2 separate regions of the Homo sapiens genome follow, and region 1 is linked to region 2. The links are contacts of gene promoters, found by promoter capture Hi-C in human tissues and cell types (Jung and others, 2019). All regions are on one chromosome and are shown on one strand. Each heading gives the region's core, a stretch centred on a gene start or on the middle of the fragment in contact. The rest is flanking DNA. Distances are from core to core; before and after follow the strand shown. Region 1 overlaps TTI1 (TELO2 interacting protein 1). Region 2 holds the start of TGM2 (transglutaminase 2).

Region 1 (3,425 bases), core at 123-2,622, 150 kb after region 2:
CTTTGTTACCCCAGCTTTGAAGAATACCAAAATCTCTACTGGGTTGTCTTCAGCAGCAGCCTTCTTCCAGAAGTTGGGTATTTGGAGGTCCCTCAAGATTGCAGTTTTGTCTGTCCAGCCCCAGGTGACCATCGAAAGCATTGTGGTTTCTCTTTCCCCAATGATAACCACACCCTAATCCCAAGCCCACGTCCAGGATCAACACATGCACCAAAGGCTCGTGCGCACACACCAAAGGCGCGCGCGCACACACACACACACACACACACACACACACAAGCTATTGATTGTTGATTCCCTCTGAACATTCTCAGTCTGTTAGTCCATCTAGTCCTTGTTGCTTCCACAAGTATTGGATGCTTTAAGAAATGATTTTTGTAATTTATTTGGCTTTTTCTAGTCATTGGCAGGAGTATTAGCCTGCCAAACCATACTATATCCTACTTGGAAGCAGAATCTGTACAGATGTTTTTGAGGGCTTGCCATGTGCCAGATGCTCTTGTAGCTTCTAGGTATAGGATTGCCCTGCCCTCTCAGAGCCTCTAGTCTAAACTAGGTAAAACAGACATATACACAAATAATACAGCATGCCAAATACTGTCATAGAGGTGTGTACAGGGGTAGGAAAAAGGAGACAAATGTGAACTAGCACCACCTGTTTAGAAAATTGCAAGTTTTATAAATTTTACATGATTGCAGGTTAGAGATCAAAGTGGTAGAATAATGAAAAATGAGGTTGGCAAGACAGGCAGAAGCCTGATGGTGAAAGGCCCCGTATGCCATGGTAATGCTTAGGTATAGCTTCTACCTAGAAGTATCTGCCCTTCATGCAGGATGGAGAGCAGTTTAAGAATTAAGCCTAGAGAATTGCGATCAGATTTTTCTTTTAGAAAGATTACTTAAGTGTCATTGTGAAATGTGAATTCGAGGAGGGCAAGAAACAAGCCAAAGGGCCAGAGAGGAAACTGTGAGAGTTGACCCAATATGAAACACATTGGTTATCATCATCAGCAGATTTGAAAGGTGTCAAAGGGGTGGAATTGATGAAATGTAGGGAATGTTGGGATTAAGAGAGGGTGAAAGAAAACAGAGATTCTAGGGTTTCTAGCTTGACTATAAATCACCAAGGGAATATGGCAGAAAGCGATGAGGTCAATGTTAGACATACTGTGTATTCCCATTTCATTAGCTCTATTACGGTTTTTGTTATATAATCTGAGAATGTAGTTTAGGAACCACCACCCTGTCAGGGGGCGGACCCCAAGTTATCTTCTTGAAACTCCTACAGTGAAATAAGAGAGAGAGCCCTAGGCCATTGCCTTCACCCTGGATTTTACAAGACACCCTCTGATTTTGTCCATTTTGTATACCAGGCTTCCACTTAAACATTGTATTTGAAGAAAATTCTCCATACTAAAAGAAAAAAAATTCCTCAGCAGTGTAAGTGTCTTCTTCTGGTGGGATATGTGGGTAATACCCTCTCTTGCATGTTGTTCTTCCATCTTGACAGAAGAACATCTTCAGTGGCATTTGGGGGCCACAATCCTTTATTTGCAGTAAGTAGGTGCTATTCCACTGTCTTCTAGCATCCATTGTTGCCAATGAGGAGTTCAAAGCCAGTTTCTTTTTCTTTTATTTGTTATTTGTCATTTCCTCCTCAAAGCATATGTGATTTTTCTCTTCATATTTAGAGTGAAGGAATTTTACCAGAATGTGGTCAGGTGTGTATCCTTCAAGGCTTTTCGGTCTCCAGATAAATCTTTTTGCAGCTAAGGGAAATGTTTCTCCTTTCAAATTCCCCCTTACATGCTGGTTCTTCCAGATCTGTCCTCCAAGTCTCACAGTTTGCGTCTCTGCATCCCTGCTTTGGGTAAGACAGGTCCACTTGATCTACTAGGCCACTAATTGGGTTTTGGCAATTAACTGTCTTTTTAAAAATTTCATCAGTGGAGCTTTTTTGTGTGTGGAAAATTATGCTTTTAATTCTAAGAGACATCTTTGGTGTCATAATTGAACTTGGTCTTTTTATTATTATTATTATTAAAATTCTTATCTGCCTCTTTTTCTGGTTCTGTTAATCTAAGATTCACCACCTCAAGGAGTGCTCAAATGCTTTTTCTACCCATGACTGCTGGATCCCATTAAGCAATTCTCTTTCTTTCCTACTTCTTGATCCAACTACCAGTATCTCAGGCAGGGAGGTGGCAAAGCAGCCTCTGGTTCATCAGTGTATGAGCCAGTGCACATGGGATGTCATTAGACCCCAGCCAAGCTTTGTGGCTGCCACGCGTGGCATTTTTCTAGCCTGAGATAGGGAAGAGTCAAGCTTCTTCCCTTCTCTGGCTTCTTGGGGCCACAGAGAGCATGAGATACACCCCAACGAAGCCTCACAGTGACGAACAGTGCCCTTCCTCATAGGGTTCCAGGGAGGTCAGTAGACCAGACTCTCCAGCGTATCAGAGTCTCTCCATGGGGAAATTTGGCACCAGCTCTCTTTCTGGACTGAGCAGGCCTTGCTCACGCCCGCTGGCACGACTTGCCTGCCAATCTATAGCCACCGAGTTCGGGAGTGTTCATGGAATTGGGGGTAGACAGAAGCAGCACAAGCACTTTCTTATCATCTCTTCAAAAGCCCCCAGCAAGTAGAGAAAAAAGAAAGACCACAAGACCACCAGACTAGATGATCTCTAAGCCTCCATCCAATGCCGACATTTTACAGTTATACACATTTATGGTCTCCAACTCAGCTCAGTCCTCAGTACCCTTGGGCCACACTTTTGTAAGTCTTCCCAGCATGCTCTGCTTCCCCAAAGGGAGTATTTGAGACTTTTATTTCTCTCCTCAAGCCCTCTGTTTATCCTTCTCCTTGTTCACTGTCAGCCCATGACTTTGAATTTCTCTTCACAAAAAAAAAGACAGACTCTTGGATATTGAGTTGTTCTTTGCTTTCCTGTAATCCTTTCTCCTTTGCCTGCTCGCCTGCTTGCCTGCCTGCTGTCCATCTTTCCATCCTGCTGGACTCTGTCTTCTCCTGTGTGTTCTGTGATAGTGTGTGCTCCCAGTTTTCCCATCTCTCTGGGTACCCCCTTTCGCTTTATGTTGCTGTCAGTCTCACCCAGTTCTGATCCTTCTCCCATATTACAGGCTCCTGGGGGATCTTTTCAGTGCATAAAGTTGACCATATCACCCCTTGCTTTAAACCTCTTAATGACAGGAACAGGCAAAACATGTCTGTAGTGATAGAAGTCATAAGAGTGGTTACCTCCAGGCAGGTGAAATAGGAATCAATTGCAAAAGGACATGAGGGAGCCTTCTAGGTTGTTGGAATTATTTTGTATCTTACTTCGGGAAGTGGTTACATTGTTCTATACAAACACAAAAATTCACTGAGCTGTACATTAAGATAGTGCATTTTACTATATGTA
Region 2 (3,249 bases), core at 1-2,500:
GCTCAGGGCTCACAGTGGATCCGGAAGCACAGGAGACCAAGAGACCAGAGATACCAGGATGAGAGATAGGACCCCTGGTTGCCAGGTTCGAGAAGTCCTAGGCTGAGTCCCTGGAAAGTTAGTCTTGCTCCTTTCTGGCACACAGTGGGGCCTCAAGAAAGCTCAGTGGATGGATGGATTGAGGGAGGGAGGGAAGAGAAGGCCGAGGGAGGGATGGATGAAGGGATGAGTGGATGGATAGGTGGGGGGGTAGGTGATGCATGGGTGAGTGGATGGATGGGTAGATGGATGGCTGATTAGATGGATGGCTGATTAGACAGATACAAGGATGGGTGAGATCGGAGGATTATCTGGGTTTTGCTACAGGAAGGGACATGGGTGTGTCTGTTTTTGCAGGTGTGTCTGCATGTCTGTACCTGAGTCCATGCCTGCATGTGTGTCTACCTCTGAGTAGCCACATCTTTGTGTGTCTGTGGGTGCCCTCTCTGATTTTGCGTCCACATCTGACAGTGGCATTGGTGTCTAGGAGGTCTGTGTGTGTGCCAGGTGCCTCTGGACACCTGCTCATCTGTGTCCACAGCTGTGTGTGGCTCGCGGTCAAGGCTACCTGGCTGTGTCAGGCTGTATCTATGTCCTGGTGTGTGTCTGCCATTCGAATCTGAATTTGTATCCATGTCACTGTGTCTGCGTGGCCAGCCGTGTTTGGTGTATCTGTGGGAGTGTATCTGTGTTTGTGTGTGTATCTCCACAGCCCTGTCTTGGTGTGTCTGCGTCTGCTCTCTGTGTATGTATATCTGAGTATGTGTGTGAGTGTGTGCGTGTGTGTGTGTGTGTGTGTGTGTGTGTGTTGGGGGTGGGGAGGTGTTCTTGATCCCAGATCTGACCTAAGAGTCCACATCTGTGTGTCCAGGTGCACCCCGGTTCCGTTGTGTGTTTCTATGAGGGTGCTGCGTGTGTCTGTATCTGAGTGTGTGTGTCCAGGTGTCTGTTCTCCAAGGTCTGAGTCTGTGGGTCCAGGTGTGTCTGTATCCTGGGCTAGTTGTGTGTCCCTGTCCGCTCCCCCAGGGGGCGCCCTCGTCCGGCCGCCGTCCCTCCCTCGGGCTCCGGTCCCCTGGGTGAGCCCCAGCGCTGGCGGCGTGGGCCCGGGACTGGGCAATGGGTGGCCTCCCAGGTCGCCGCCTTCCCGCGGGGCCCCGCCCCCGGCCCGCCCCAAAGCGGGCTATAAGTTAGCGCCGCTCTCCGCCTCGGCAGTGCCAGCCGCCAGTGGTCGCACTTGGAGGGTCTCGCCGCCAGTGGAAGGAGCCACCGCCCCCGCCCGACCATGGCCGAGGGTGAGTATCAGAGTCACCGCAGCCGCCACTCAGGGGCCCCGGGGCATTGGGGGTCAGGACCCGGTGGGAGCTGAATCCCTAAGTCCTGATTTGGAGAGCAACAGGCAGACCGGGCTGGGTGAGGAGGCGTCTCAATGCTGCTTGGAGCCTCAGTTTCCCCATCCACACTGCATAACCATTAACCCTTGCCTCCCTGGATCAGGTGAGGCAATGGAACGCGACGGGGTGTTGTAAACTGTAAAGTACTGTCCTGGCGGACCACTGGCACGTGTCCTCAGTCAGTCAGTGGGGGCTGGCTCTCTGATGTGTGCCTGGAGCTGTGCAGGGGGTGCTGGCCTGGCCTCAGAACACTTAGGTTTGGGTGGTTCTTGCCAGCCAGGACCAGGTGGTGTGCATGCCACGCCGGTGGTGTGCAAGCCAAGCCTGGCTGAGTCCTTGGCTCCAGCGGCCAGAGAGGAGCTTTCGGCATCCTATCCAGGAGCCTTCGGAAATCAGGCTTGTTCTTCCCGCCCTCACGTTCTGCAACCCTAGACCTTGGCCAATTGTTGAGTCTCACCTATAAAATAAGGACAACAGTGTCCTTATTTTATAGGACAAGGTTTATGAGATTTGTTTTCCCCCAAGACCCCCACCCATCTGTCACCCTGACCGTGCCCTGGTCCTCTGCTCCAGCCTTTGGTGCATCTGTGAGGAACGAGAGGAGTGGAACAGAGGCTTAACTAATTTCATACTGGTGCCCCTGACTCCCTCCCCACACACAAGCAGCACTCTCGTAGGTCCCAGCTGGAGGGATTTCTACAATGGAGGATGTCACTGCTGGACCCAGAATCCCAGCTGGCTCTTGGGTCAAGTTCATCTGGGGATGGCTTCTGCACCCATTGCAACCCCCAGGAAGGGGTGTGGGACAGGGACATGGGGCAGGTGGAGCAGGAATGGGTGGCAGGAACTGTGGACCCACCTGACCCTGCTGTGTGATCTCAGCCACCTGCCTCCCTCGGGCCCAGCTCCCAACACACTGTGATGTGTCGCCTCGGTGGCCGCTTGTCCTCAATGCATCTTCTCACCCCCATGCTCAAAAGCAGGGCTCAGTGGGGCTGGGAGATCCTGGAGATGCCAGTTATGATGAGCCTCCAGCCCCATGTCACAGTGGCCACTTCTGACAGAGGTCTCACTGGCCTAGAAGGCCTAGGCCCTTTCTAAGTGCAGAAATCCTATAAATCCTACAATTCTAGACCTGCATCTTTGGAGCTGGGCGTGATTTCTGGAAACCCTTCTTCGGACAACAGATGGAGAAAATGCCCCAGCTCCCACAGCCCAGGGACTGGCCGTATCTCCAGGGTCTTCCATGGGAACAACAATGGCCTCTTTCCTGCTCAAGCTCCCTGGGTCTGAAGTTTCCAAAAACATTTCCTCGCCGCAATAGGCCAGCAGGAAGTTTTTCCTTCTGGCCACTGAGGTCTCTTCTGTTGTGATTACACGGGGACCGACATCCCTGATACTTCAGTGGCGCAGAACTATCTGCCCCCAGGTTTGAGAACAACACAGGACATGGTGGCGAAGGGGTGGTCATAAGAGGGGCTGGAGAAAAAACTGAGCTGTAGTGAGGTGGTTCCCAGGGCAGAATCCTACAGAATCCTACAGCTCTGGATTCCAATCCCAAAGCAGCCACTTGCTCTGGGACCTGGAGCCACCTGGTGTCTTTGTCTACAAAATGGGAATCATGATAGCATCTATGTAAGCGGAGTTGTTTTGGGATTTAAGTCGAGATAATTCACATACAAGGCACTTTGCATCTCATTTTTGGAATAGTCGATGGTGAGCAGGAGACCTGGGCTCTCCCACTGCAAGGACCAACTTGCGGCGTGACTTTGAACAAATTCCTGCCCCTGGGCCTCACTTGGACCACATGCTGTCCAGT

What was found. Contacts are between HindIII fragments. The study calls those that stand out against the background at their distance.
Region 1: a fragment that was not itself captured here is called in contact with the fragment with the promoter of TGM2 in region 2 in 1 of the 25 tissues and cell types used here (IMR-90 fibroblasts).

What each region holds. Positions count from the first base shown.
Region 1 is chr20:38,014,258-38,017,682 of GRCh38, reverse strand. The region is part of intron 1 of TTI1 (TELO2 interacting protein 1); the gene reads left to right. Among named protein-coding and RNA genes, the nearest start is that of TTI1, 17 kb to the left of the region's middle. The HindIII fragment of the contact is 3,197 bases long and covers 1-2,970 here.
Region 2 is chr20:38,163,271-38,166,519 of GRCh38, reverse strand. TGM2 (transglutaminase 2) reads left to right here and starts at 1,250. Exons shown (of 13, transcript NM_004613.4): 1 at 1,250-1,331. The coding sequence starts at 1,322. RefSeq lists a silencer at 958-1,397. The HindIII fragment of the contact is 7,409 bases long and covers 1-3,249 here.